Linked DNA regions of Homo sapiens: regions 2, 3 and 4 are each linked to region 1. Evidence: promoter capture Hi-C in 16 types of primary human blood cells and fetal thymus (Javierre and others, 2016). All regions are on one chromosome and are shown on one strand. The core of a region is centred on a gene start or on the middle of the fragment in contact, and the rest is flanking DNA. Distances in the headings are between cores, read along the strand shown.

Region 1 (2,853 bases), core at 160-2,659:
GCCCTTATTGGTTATGTGCACATTTGGGGTGAATTCCACGGTCATCTAACAGAACTGTTTTGGTAGTCCCAGGTAAACTTACGGTACGGAAATTTGTTTCTTGAGGATACAAAAAAGAAAGGTGTCAGGGGGAAAGTAAAAATTCAACTCCTAAAACATCGCGTGTAGAGTCAGGCAGTCACTTCATAAAGAGTTCAGTCGATGAAGTTTCACTCTTGAAACTTTACTGTATGTATGCAAGCCCTAACTATTAATACAGGTGACAGCATCCACCTTATCTTCCATTCTCCCTAAGCCCTGAGGGTGGGGATGGGGGGGGGGGCACTCCAATCACCTGAGCCTAAGAACATAGCCTAAGAACATGTGTCTGGCATGGTCTGGTTATTTATAGCCTAAAAAAAAAAAAAGCCAGCTTCTTGTCCGATTCAGGCTTTCCCTGCCCAAACCCACTAGCTTAATGCGATATTGACATTACCAGGAAATGCATACGTCCCAAATGCATCTGCTTATAGATGTTTTTACCTCCTGAAATAATACCGGGTCACAAATACTGTTGTGTTTTTTGCAGAGAGCTTCTACTGCTCATTTAATTCAGGGGCGTTGGATTTGTGCTGAGCGTAATTTGACTCCAAGCATGCAAACTGATCAACTTCTTCCCGTGTGTTTGGGGAGTACAAGTGACTACTGCGACTCCTCAAATGTTTTTCTTTTCCTTTTCACGTGGAGGAAAGCGAATTCTCCGAAGACTGTTCGGCGTTCTACGCAGGGGTTGGAAGGGGGGTTCCTGAGTCACCTCTGGCTGCGCGGGGGGCCTGTGTGTACCCTCAGGGACACCAGGCTGGAATCGTCCACCTTACTTTCAAATGATAAAAGTGCGGAGGGTCTTTCTGCCCCTAAGTCGCGTACAGGATTGCCTGTTTACGGAGTACACTTTCACACACTTCTTTCCCGGTGGTGCAGTCTCGTGGCGGCAGAGCCTTTAGGAAGGCTCTGGGGGGAGACAAGATCAGTGGCGACCACGCCTCCCATGTTACAGCGCTCGCTTCCTACTGGGGGTTGGCGGGGACACCAAGGCTCTCCAGCCCGGGAACACGGAGTTCGGCTCCGTTGTACCCAACTGGAAAGCTGTGGAAACACAAAACTCGGGCGGCGACAGCACCAGCCGATTTTCCGCTCTCTTGGCTCTTTCTTCCGCTTGCACCGCCCCCACCCCGGCTCCTCCGCTCAGCACACAGGAACCCACATCCCCCACCACTCCCGCGTTTCTCTCCTGCCACCAGCTGGGGCCTGCCTTTTATAGGCGCCGCAGCCAATGAGCACGCTTCTTTCCTTCTGCCCGCCCGCCTGGCCAATCGCCGCGCCCCTTGTGTAATCTCCGGCTAGTCGGCTGCTTTCGGCTATTTTCGCTGTTGCTGGCTTTTTCAGGAGCTGCTCGCTCGCAGCCAGAGACGCTGCTTTTTTTTTCCGGGTTCGGAGCCGTTCCGGATGCTTTAGGCTGCCGGATGTCTGATCTCCGAATAACTGAGGCGTTTCTGTACATGGATTATCTGGTAGGTGCAGGGCAGGGGTGGCATGTCGCCTCTCGGATCTCGGCGTGCCCGATGGCCCCCTGCCTTGAGGAGCAGCCTTTTTGCTTTCTTTCTTTGGGATAGGATGCCTCTGGGGTTCTTTCTCCCGCAGCCGGCTGGTAAGCCTTTCCCTGGACTCGGAGGGGCAGCCTCCAGGGCGGGTGGGTGGTGGAGCTGACAGGTAAAGGTGCGGCCTGGGCCAGCACGGCTGCAGGGCGAGGGTCGCGCTGGGGCTGCTTGAGAGATGGGGCGGCCGCGGCGGCGCGTCCCCTGCCCGCGATCGGCTTCCTGGCTTCCCTCTGCGCTCTCCGCAGAGGACTTTCTTTCCGGGGGAGCAGGAGTTTTCCTCTCTCCCTGGAGCAGAACTCCAGGTGCTATTAAAGAGCCATAACCAGAATGGCTCACTAAGTGCCCAGCAGCCCTGGTCATTTGATTGTTATTAAATCTCTAAAGCTATGACCTCGGTCGTGGCGGGGTTTTAAAAGCACATTACCATAAAGCAGACGGGTCTAAACTACCTCGCAGGCTGGCACGAACAGGACTGAGTAGGGACAGGTATAGCCCCACCATTCCGGTCTTGGGTGCGTGCCGCGGTTCCACTGTGCACGGATTGGAACCCGGCTGTTTAGGCCAGGCTTGTGCTGAGAAGTTTAGGTGGGAAAAGTGTCAGCACAGTGCTGGGACCGAACATCATTTTAAAAATGGACTTCTATGTGTCTTTGTGGAATTATGCGAGCACCATGTTTTGTTCCAGAAATTATATTTCCCCAGAGTTGCTTGTTTGCGTTTAAGGGGATCCTCATTTACAGAGACTTGTGTTCGATCCTATACGATTATTGTGTTTACCATGTTGGGCAGAACCGCTATTGCCATGCAGAGTTGAAGTAGACGGTTAGAAACATTGACCCTCCTGTCATCTTGTTGGACACATGCACTCGGTTTTCGACTGCAGATTGGCCTGGCAGAGATTTGCCAGTGCCTTCTAGGAATTACACTTAAGGCTGTACTGAGAAAGTCTGTGCATGCTTTGATGGCCAAGAAACGCCGGACCGGCTTTGTGCTGTTATCTGTGTATTTGGGCTTATTTTAGTGTACATAAAGAAAATGTTTCTCCTAATGCTTCAGAGCTTGATGGTCTTGTGGGAAAGGATGGTGACTGCAGTTAATGCATAGCCTTGTGAATGGAGCTGGATCTAAAATTCTGAATTCAAGTTCTGTTTTGTTGTTCATTTGTTGATGGCAGTAACTTCCTTTATCTTTGTGATAAAGGGATATTATTCACCCA
Region 2 (2,853 bases), core at 205-2,704, 590 kb before region 1:
CTGAAGGAAGTACCTCGTATGGCCTTGAGTCTCCAGAGCTGCCTGTCAGAAGAAACAGAAGAAATCCCCACTGGCTGCTGTCAATCCACTGACTTGCTTTAACTTTCTTCCTTCATTGTAAAGTCTTGCTCCCAAATGCTCTGTGAGGACACTCGTTGAAGTGGCTATCATTGATTTATATTTCTGTGTGAGGAATTCCAGCCCCTTTCTTCAGGGTAGGTTTTTACTCTGAGAAATTATGAAGATGGCAGAGGAATAGAAGGGTCCCCATGGGAACAAAAGCAGGACTGGCATTTGGGGGTATTAAGATACACACTTTACTGACTTCTAAATTTTCCTTGAGGTCTCTGAGTTCTGCTGTAAAATAGTTTGGCTGGCTTTCCATTACTCTCCTATGAAAATGGTAAACTGACAACTTCAAATAGAAAAAAATTTCATATTAATTTCTTCATTTCTTCATCAACTACTTATTGAGTACATGCTGTGTCAGCTGCTGGTCCAGACCCTGGGGAGATAACACAGCATCGATGGTCACTTGGATTAGAGCAGCAACAGAGATGGAGAGAAGCAGATTGATTTGAGTCATGTTTAGATGTAGGGCTAACAGGACTTTGGGTATAAGGAAAAGAGATGAATGAGTGTTGATTCGTAAGGTTTGGACTTGAACCATGAGATAGATGGTGGTGCTATTACAGAGATGAAGGGGATGAGAGGAGGACCAGGCTTGCAGAGCAGAAGTCAAGGCTTCCATTTTTGTCACATTAATTTTGAGATGACTATTTGACAACTGGGGGAAAATGGCAAGCAGGCCTATCTTATTCAGTTCAGGCTGTCATAACATAAGGCCCCATGGACTGGGTGGCTTAAATAACAAACATTTTATTTCTCATAGTTCTAGAAGCTGGGAAGTCCAAGATCAAGGTGCCTGCACATCCAGTGTCTGGTGAGGGCATTCTCCTTGGTTTGTAGACAGCTGTCTTCTCATCGTATCCTCACATGGTAGAGAACAGAGAGAGGAAGCTAGCTCTCTGGTCTCTCCCAATAAGGAAACTAATCCCATTAATGTGGGCTCCATTTTCAAGATCGAATTACCTCTCAAGGCCCCCACTCCTAATACCATCACATTGAGGGTTAGGATTTCAGCATTTGAATTTGGGCAGGGAGGTGGGGGAGAAGGCCAGACATTTGGTCCATAACAAGGGCTTTGGATACACAAGTAAGGCTGAAACCCAGGGGGCCCCTCAGAACCAGAAGTATGAATTTGGGAGTCCTTTCCATGTAGTACTTCAAACCATGGGGCGGGAAAAAATTTGTAGATGGAGAAGAAGAGAGCAGGTAGGGCTGAGCTCTGAGTGCAGAGATGGCTTAGAGGACATGGAGCTAGCAGAGGAGACTAAGCAGGTGCAGTCACTGAAGTGGGAGGTTAACACAGAGCCTGTTGCTTTATGGAAGCCAAGAAAGGAAAGGATTTCAAGGAAAGAGCAGTCAGTTTGAATGCTACTGAATGTAGGGCGAGATGAGAACAGAGAGTACCATCAGGTGTGGTGATTGGCGCTTTCTGCTCTCATCTCATCCTACCTTCAGTAGCTCAGCAGGAAACAGAAATTATACTGCCCTGATTGAATGGGTGCAAAGAGAAGGGGACATCATGTGCTTCAAAGAGTTGGATCAGAAGAGTTGGGGGGAAGTTAGGTATGGTGAAGGGACTATAATATCAGGAAAGGGATTTTTAGGATTAGAATATCCTTTTTAGCTGGAAAAATAGAGAGGGGGATATTGAAGATTGCAGGAGAGAAAGAAAAAGAGAGAGAGAGACGCCTTGAAGAAGCAGAAGGGAATGGGATCTAGAGGCAAGTGGAGGTTTGCCCTGAATAAGTAACTCTAGTGCCTGTAACAAGATGCCGGGTGCAGGGATGACGAGGCTGGGTTGAGGTTGGTCAAAAAGAGACTAAACTCCAAAAGAGGTGAGAAAGCGGAGACAGTGAAAGGAAATGACGCTTTCCAAAAGAAGACTTCTTTCTCTGTGCTAAAGGAAAGGATACATGTTGGGCTACGGAAATGGGATGGAATTTGGAGTTAAAACACTTGAGTCCCAGGATTGAGACTCATCTTAAGCTACTGAGTGTAGCTTACCTGCCCAACAGATTTTTCTGAGGGGAAAAAAGGGGCAATTCACCTACTCAAAAGAATCAAGATGTAATTATTTTCTTAGAATATCTCCACAATTTGATCATGAGGGCTTATCAAAATTTCATGAAAACAGACATTGCATGAATACTCTTAGTATCCACTTATTCATTCATTCATTCATTCCACAGATAGTCATTGAAAACCCATTATGGCCCAAGCACTGCTGCAGGCATTGGGGTTGCTCAGTGACCATACCAAGTCTCTGCCACATAGAGTTTACATTAGAGTGGGAAGGAAAACTATAAATAAGGATCTATGTATACCAGATGGTTATCAATGTTGTGGAGAAAAAGCAGCTTATGCAGAATGGAGGAGCTGTTATCTATGGTGACTATGGGAGTCCTCACCAGTTAGAGTACATTTAAGCAGAGACAGCAGCATGGGACAAGCCATGAGGACGCAGATGCTCCTCATTTTACAATGGGGTTATGTCCCTAGAAGCCCATCAGGAACCTCATAAGCCTATCATAAGTTGAAAATATTGTTAGTCAACAGTGTGTTTTCAACTTACGGTATTTTCAATTTACAATGGGTTTATCCAGATGCAACCCCATCGGGAGCTAAGGAGTGCACTGAATGTGCATCACCTTTGCACCATTCAAAGCAGAGACATTGAATGTTGAACCTTGCTAAGTTGGATGCTGTCTGTATTATAAGCATCAC
Region 3 (2,853 bases), core at 226-2,725, 560 kb before region 1:
TGGGGGCACCAGCCTGTTAAAAGGGATCAAAATGGGACACCAACAGAAACTATGACACCACCCGTGTGCCAGGCACTGTGCTAGGTACTGAAGAGATGAGATACAAAAGGTATGGTCCCCGATCTTAGAAAACTTACAGAATAATGCAGGAGATAGATGCATAAATAAGAAATGTTAACACAACTTGGCAGGTTCTAGGATAAAGAAATGCACAGAGGAGCAAAGAGGGGAGGCAGATATTGCAGGCTAGATTCCCCAAAACTTTACTTGGAGCTTGACTACTCTGATGATGACCTCCTGGGTCTGAGTCTCAGCTTCTTTTGCCCTCCTGCTATAGAAGATGAGAAGGACTTTGCTAACAGGAAGGCCTTCTGGCTTTCACACTTAGTTTGTAATTGTCAACTAATCTTTCCCAGCTTTTCCTTATCTTTTCCAAAGCTTCATTCAAGCTTGGCAATAGGCACCCAATTCCATTGTCTTCATAGTTACTTTTTATTTGCCCTGTTTTTAAGAGCTCAGCATTTCATAGCCAGGCCTAACGTATTCCTTTATGCTCTTACACCAAGCCAGCTCACCACCAGTGAAGTTTGCAGTCATTGCCAGGGCTCTCTGTGGTTCACCTACCACCAGTGACAGTGTCCTAATTACCATTTGAGTAGTGGTTGGTCCAGCTGCAAATCTCATCTTATCATCTGCTTTTTCAGACCACTTCCAGTACCAATTGTCACAGGTTGGGCTTCTGGGGAGGCAGAATCTGAAATGGAACTTAGCATGCAGGAGGTTTATTAGAGAGAGCTCATAGGATCAACTCCTATGGAGGGGAAAGAAGCATTCTGGGGTAGATGGAGGAGTTGAATTGTAATTTCATCTCAGTTGAAACCTCAGCTACCTCTCTTGAGAGTTGTGAAGAGGGAATGACCGTTCAGAGCTTTCCAGAGTTGGGGTGAGAGAACACTGAGCCTTTTATACACCCATGTCATATCTCTGGGTCACCCCAGGAAGCAGATAAGGCCTTGGGAAAGGCAACTTTCTTCACCAGGATCAGTCCCTGAAAAGAGATGATAATATAAGGTGGAATAGTCATTGCATAATAAATTTACTAATATATTTCTTTTGTTATTTTCCTCTTAGCATCTTTTTATGGTGAAAGCTATGTGGAGTTCAACATCATAGAAGTTTCCTCTGAGCTATCTCTTCAATTAAAATTTCATACCAGCAAACCACAGGGATTACTTTTGCTTGCAGCTGGGACAAATGACTATTGTATAATAGAACTTAAATCAGGAACCTTATGTGTATGATTTTAAATCTTGAAAATACATATAAGCATATAATTACTGGAGAGAAAAGCAGTTGAGAGAGAAAGAGAACAAAACAGCTACATGTATTGATTGCTGTTATTTCATTAGAATAAAATGATGTGCCATTTGTATAGGTTGGGATCTCCTTCGGTTTTACTAGCATGGCTTAAATATTCCAACTTTAAAATTTCCTGAGTTTAGTATGTAATCTATAAGCATGGGAAGAGTTTTCATGTGCAAATTTCTCTCTTCTTTTTCTTTTGTGAAAGGTCCGATTTTCTCAATAAAACATTATGAAATGAAAAGTGAGATGAGATTGATTAATTATGATTCTTTTTCAGGTGAGAGTAAATTTGGGTACAAGTGAACAAATGCTCCTTTCTGAGCAGAGACTTCATATGGATGACCTGGTTTGGCATTTGGTGGAACTGTGCTATGTTAAGCATAATATTTCCTTTGTTATTGACAAACGTTATGAGACAACTGGCCAAATGGCAGCTGGTGGGATGCATAATTTGAATTTTCAACATGGAATCTATGTAGGAGGCCGCAGGGCACTCAATGTACCTTATCTGTACGGAAAGCTCCCCAATTTTTGAGGATGTATGAAGGATGTGGTATTTAACCAGAGGGAGATCCTTACGTCCCTTAGATCTTACCCTGGTTTTAAGAAGGTTTATGAGGTGTCACTAGGATGCAATGACGAGTTTTTTTTGCAGGGGAGGATGAAGCCATCAATTTCTTTAGCTCCAGATTCTCTGTCAGTTTTCCAGAATGGAAAGTGCAAGGGTAAACACTATTGGAATTTACTTTGCAAACTGTAACTCAGCAAGCCTTGCTTTCATTTCAGTTGGGTAAGGAAGGAGATTTTGTTGCTTTGTAAATAGATGAAAGTCTATTGAAGGCTTATGTAGGAAGGCATAAAAGTAAAACTCAGCTTTCTTCTTTTAGTTTTGTCAGTGACAACAAGTGGCATGTTATTCAATTCAAATTCACAGGGGAGTATCTGGACCTAACAGTAGATGAAAAAAAGGTAAGGAAGTCACTGCCTTTGCAAAGCAAACATTTGTATCTGAAGGAGCCCTTTTTGTGGGAGGTCTTGATAACCAAATGTGGGAAGAAGTAAAGAGGTTAGAACTTGCCTCTGTGCCTGGGAAATTTGCTCGAGGAACCTCTTTCAAAGGGTGCTTAAGAAGCTTGGAAGCCAATTCAGAAAAGAGAGCGTTAAGGGATGCCCTTGTTTTCAAAGATATTCCTGTTGTTGTAAAACTGAGAGTGTTGATAACACAAATCCTTCCATAACAGCGATAGAAAATCTGCATCAGTCAGAAGTTTTCCTTTCCACTGCCGTCCCTGAGGTCATCAAGCCTTTTCTTCAAGATGAGAGTAGCGATTTCTTGGTTTTGAATAACTTGCAGGTCCAAGAAGGTGGACCTTACTGAAACAAAGGCACATGAAACTGGATGTGAAATTTAAGGATTTGGGTATCCATCATTCTCAAATACTATTTAAAATAGAGGGAAGGCCTATTCATGGGTTCCTTCAATTAAAT
Region 4 (2,853 bases), core at 142-2,641, 540 kb before region 1:
ACAAAGGACATGAACTCATCATTTTTTATGGCTGCATGGTATCCCATGGTGTATATGTGCCACATTTTCTTAATCCAGTCTATCATTGTTGGACATTTGGGTTGGTTCCAAGTCTTTGCTATTGTGAATAGTGCCGCAATAAACATACGTGCGCATGTGTCTTTATAGCAGCAAGATTTATAGTCCTTTGGATATATACCCAGTAATGGGATGGCTGGGTCAAATGGTATTTCTAGTTCTAGATCCTTGAGGAATGCTCACCATCACTGGCCATCAGAGAAATGCAAATCAAAACCACAATGAGATACCATCTCACACCAGTTAGAATGGCGATCATTAAAAAGTCAGGAAACAACAGGTGCTGGAGAGGATGTGGAGAAATAGGAACACTTTTACACTGTTGGTGGGACTGTAAACTAGTTCAACCATTGTGGAAGTCAGTGTGGCGATTCCTTAAAACATCCTTTTAATATCTGCCCCTCATTTTTTATTGGAGTGTGGTATCTCTTTTATCCACTAGAATGTGTAATAACAATGGCAAATGAGCATAGAAACTTTCTGGAAAGACTGTGTGTATTGATCAATTGCAGAGTGTTCTCATAAATTGATAACCTTTAACATTATTAAATAATTTTCACACATCAGGTGTGTTTACTTTTTTGTGAAAGCTAATAGATATAGCATATGCATTTTATCAACATAGTAGAGCCACGAGAATGCAGTTTTCAATAACATAGTTTCTCCAAAGCTATGGTTACCAGTTACTTCTTTCCAGGCAAAGTTTTAAACTTAGGAGATTATTTCAGATGATGATGTTTCTTATTTCTATATTTCAGAGCATATCAAACAGTAATAATAACAACCATTTACATGGTCCATTACATGGTCCTAATGATAGTTATTACTTACATAGTACTTACAGTGCCTGGCATTGTTCTATGCGCTTTACATTTACCCAGTGAATCTTCAACAACTCTCTGGGATATGATTTTTATTTTAAAGATGAGAAATCTGCAATGCAGAGAGGCTTTGACACTTCTCCAAGGTCCAAAGCAGAAGGGCTGCTGGTGGACAGCAAGTGGCAGAGCTAGAATGCGAGTTTGAGTTTGGCACCACAGTGTTCTCTCACTTCTTCCTTCATAGTTAGCGAAGAAGCTCAAGGACCTGGTGAAGCAGATAAAGAGAGTATTGCTCTTATTCCAATTTTAAGAAGGTGGAATTAAAGATCAAGAGGTTAAGCGATTTGCCCAAAATAACAAAGTTAGTGGCAGAGTCTGGGGCAAAGGCAGTTATGCAAATGCAAATGTGATAAAGTCTTCAGATTCAGTGCTGTTTCTGACTTTTCAAACAGCATGTTCTCAAGACATTCGGATTATCCTGCATGATGACTCACTCTCCCTACTTGTCATCTGGGCCTGGAGGAGGTGGCAAGAAAGTCTGTCTGCAGCCTAAGTGGGAGAAGAAGGTGGGAGCGTGGGGGATAGAGTTGCTGATAACATCTCAGACTCTGGAGGGAGTTCATAGCCAGCAATCAGAATGTTAACCTCTGTGTCCCACCATTTAAAACACACTTCTTTCTCCTGACAAATTAAAACATTTCCTTAAGCCACAGTTCTTTCAGCTGATCTCCAAGGTCATTCAATGGTACAAGAGATCATTTGTGTCCCAACAAACTGGAATTGGGAATTGGAGTTAGGCCATCTTGGGTGAATCCTTTGCATTTTACTTTGAAATATATTCTACTGAGTATTTTTGTATTCAAATATGATCAGTGAATTTTGTGCATATCTGATAAAACATATTTTTGTCCACAAGGGGGCTTCATTTTCCTATTTTTCAAGTTCCTCTTTCAGTAATACTATACATTTTGTTTTGTTGTTTTTATACTGAAAATAGAACCATTTGCTTGCTTTTGAGAAATACTTGTCATCACTAAAAGGAGCTTTGAGAGCTGGTCACAGTAGAAGAATTAAGGCAGCAAAGTTTGAAATGCCAATTGAAGCTCTCGGGGGACCAACAGTGGGAGAGTGAATTCATGAGCATTTCACATCCCTCGTATGAAACGCAACAAAGGTCTAGGCTTTGTTGTTTTTGTTTGTTTGTTTGTTTGTTTGTTTTTGAGACGAAGTCTTGCTCTGTCACCCAGGCTGAAGTGCAGTGGCACGATCTCGGCTCACTGCAACCTCTGCCTCCAAAGGTCTGGGCTTTTAAATATTAAGTTTACAACTAGGATTAAATGGGATCACAATTAGGTTTCTAAATACCACTAAACTCTTCTTAAAGCTAAAGGTCAATTTAAAAATTATTATTCCAGGTTTGTGTTATTTTCTGATATTTATGCTTTGAACTATTCTTTTTTGGGCTTTGGATCACTTTAAAATCTGAATTCAAATTGGGGGTCTTTGTTTTCCTTCTCCTCATCTGCCTGAAGTTTCCATTACCAAGCACTGGGCACTAAATCAGGCCTTACCTGAAGCAATGGGGTCGTTAATTGAACTAAATTTGGTTTGAGTGGAAATGAGACCTGAGGCTACTAGATCTTGTTTTGAGTGGCAGGTTTTCCATTTGTTTTGGAAGATGGTATATTTCAGAGGCGAGAGGGAGGGAAAGCAGTGTTCCATAGCAGAGTAGCTGCAGTGGAAAACATGCTTTGTCCAGCCTTGGTGTGTATGGCCTTGGAAAAAATGATTGTTTCTACAAGTCACGAGAAGAGAAATGGCAGCACATTTCCAAGTCAGCTGGAGCTCTAGAAGAAATGAGGATGAGATATGTGGATGGATTAAAAAATGTAAAAAGTGAAAAACCAGAATGAGTGGGCTTGGAATTTTGTTAAACAGTCCAACTTGCGCATTT

Evidence for each region. The method cuts DNA at HindIII sites, captures the fragments that hold promoters and counts their contacts. A CHiCAGO score of 5 or more calls a contact.
Region 2: a fragment that was not itself captured here is called in contact with the fragment with the promoter of ARL15 in region 1 in 2 of 17 cell types (M2 macrophages and M1 macrophages); the score reaches 6.6 in M2 macrophages.
Region 3: a contact is called between a fragment that was not itself captured here and the fragment with the promoter of ARL15 in region 1, in 4 of 17 cell types (total B cells, naive CD8 T cells, monocytes and 1 more). The highest score is 11.6, in total B cells.
Region 4: a contact is called between a fragment that was not itself captured here and the fragment with the promoter of ARL15 in region 1, in 2 of 17 cell types (neutrophils and total B cells). The highest score is 5.4, in neutrophils.

The regions. Positions count from the first base shown.
Region 1 is chr5:54,309,129-54,311,981 of GRCh38, reverse strand. ARL15 (ARF like GTPase 15) reads left to right here and starts at 1,409. Exons shown (of 5, transcript NM_019087.3): 1 at 1,409-1,550. The coding sequence starts at 1,503. The HindIII fragment of the contact is 4,353 bases long and covers 1-2,853 here.
Region 2 is chr5:54,898,152-54,901,004 of GRCh38, reverse strand. No RefSeq gene overlaps it. Among named protein-coding and RNA genes, the nearest start is that of ESM1, 86 kb to the left of the region's middle. RefSeq lists a silencer at 1,176-1,333. The HindIII fragment of the contact is 5,239 bases long and covers 1-2,853 here.
Region 3 is chr5:54,870,821-54,873,673 of GRCh38, reverse strand. It overlaps the pseudogene CSPG4BP. Among named protein-coding and RNA genes, the nearest start is that of ESM1, 110 kb to the left of the region's middle. The HindIII fragment of the contact is 2,048 bases long and covers 452-2,499 here.
Region 4 is chr5:54,844,294-54,847,146 of GRCh38, reverse strand. It overlaps the pseudogene CSPG4BP. Among named protein-coding and RNA genes, the nearest start is that of LINC02998, 100 kb to the right of the region's middle. The HindIII fragment of the contact is 9,684 bases long and covers 1-2,853 here.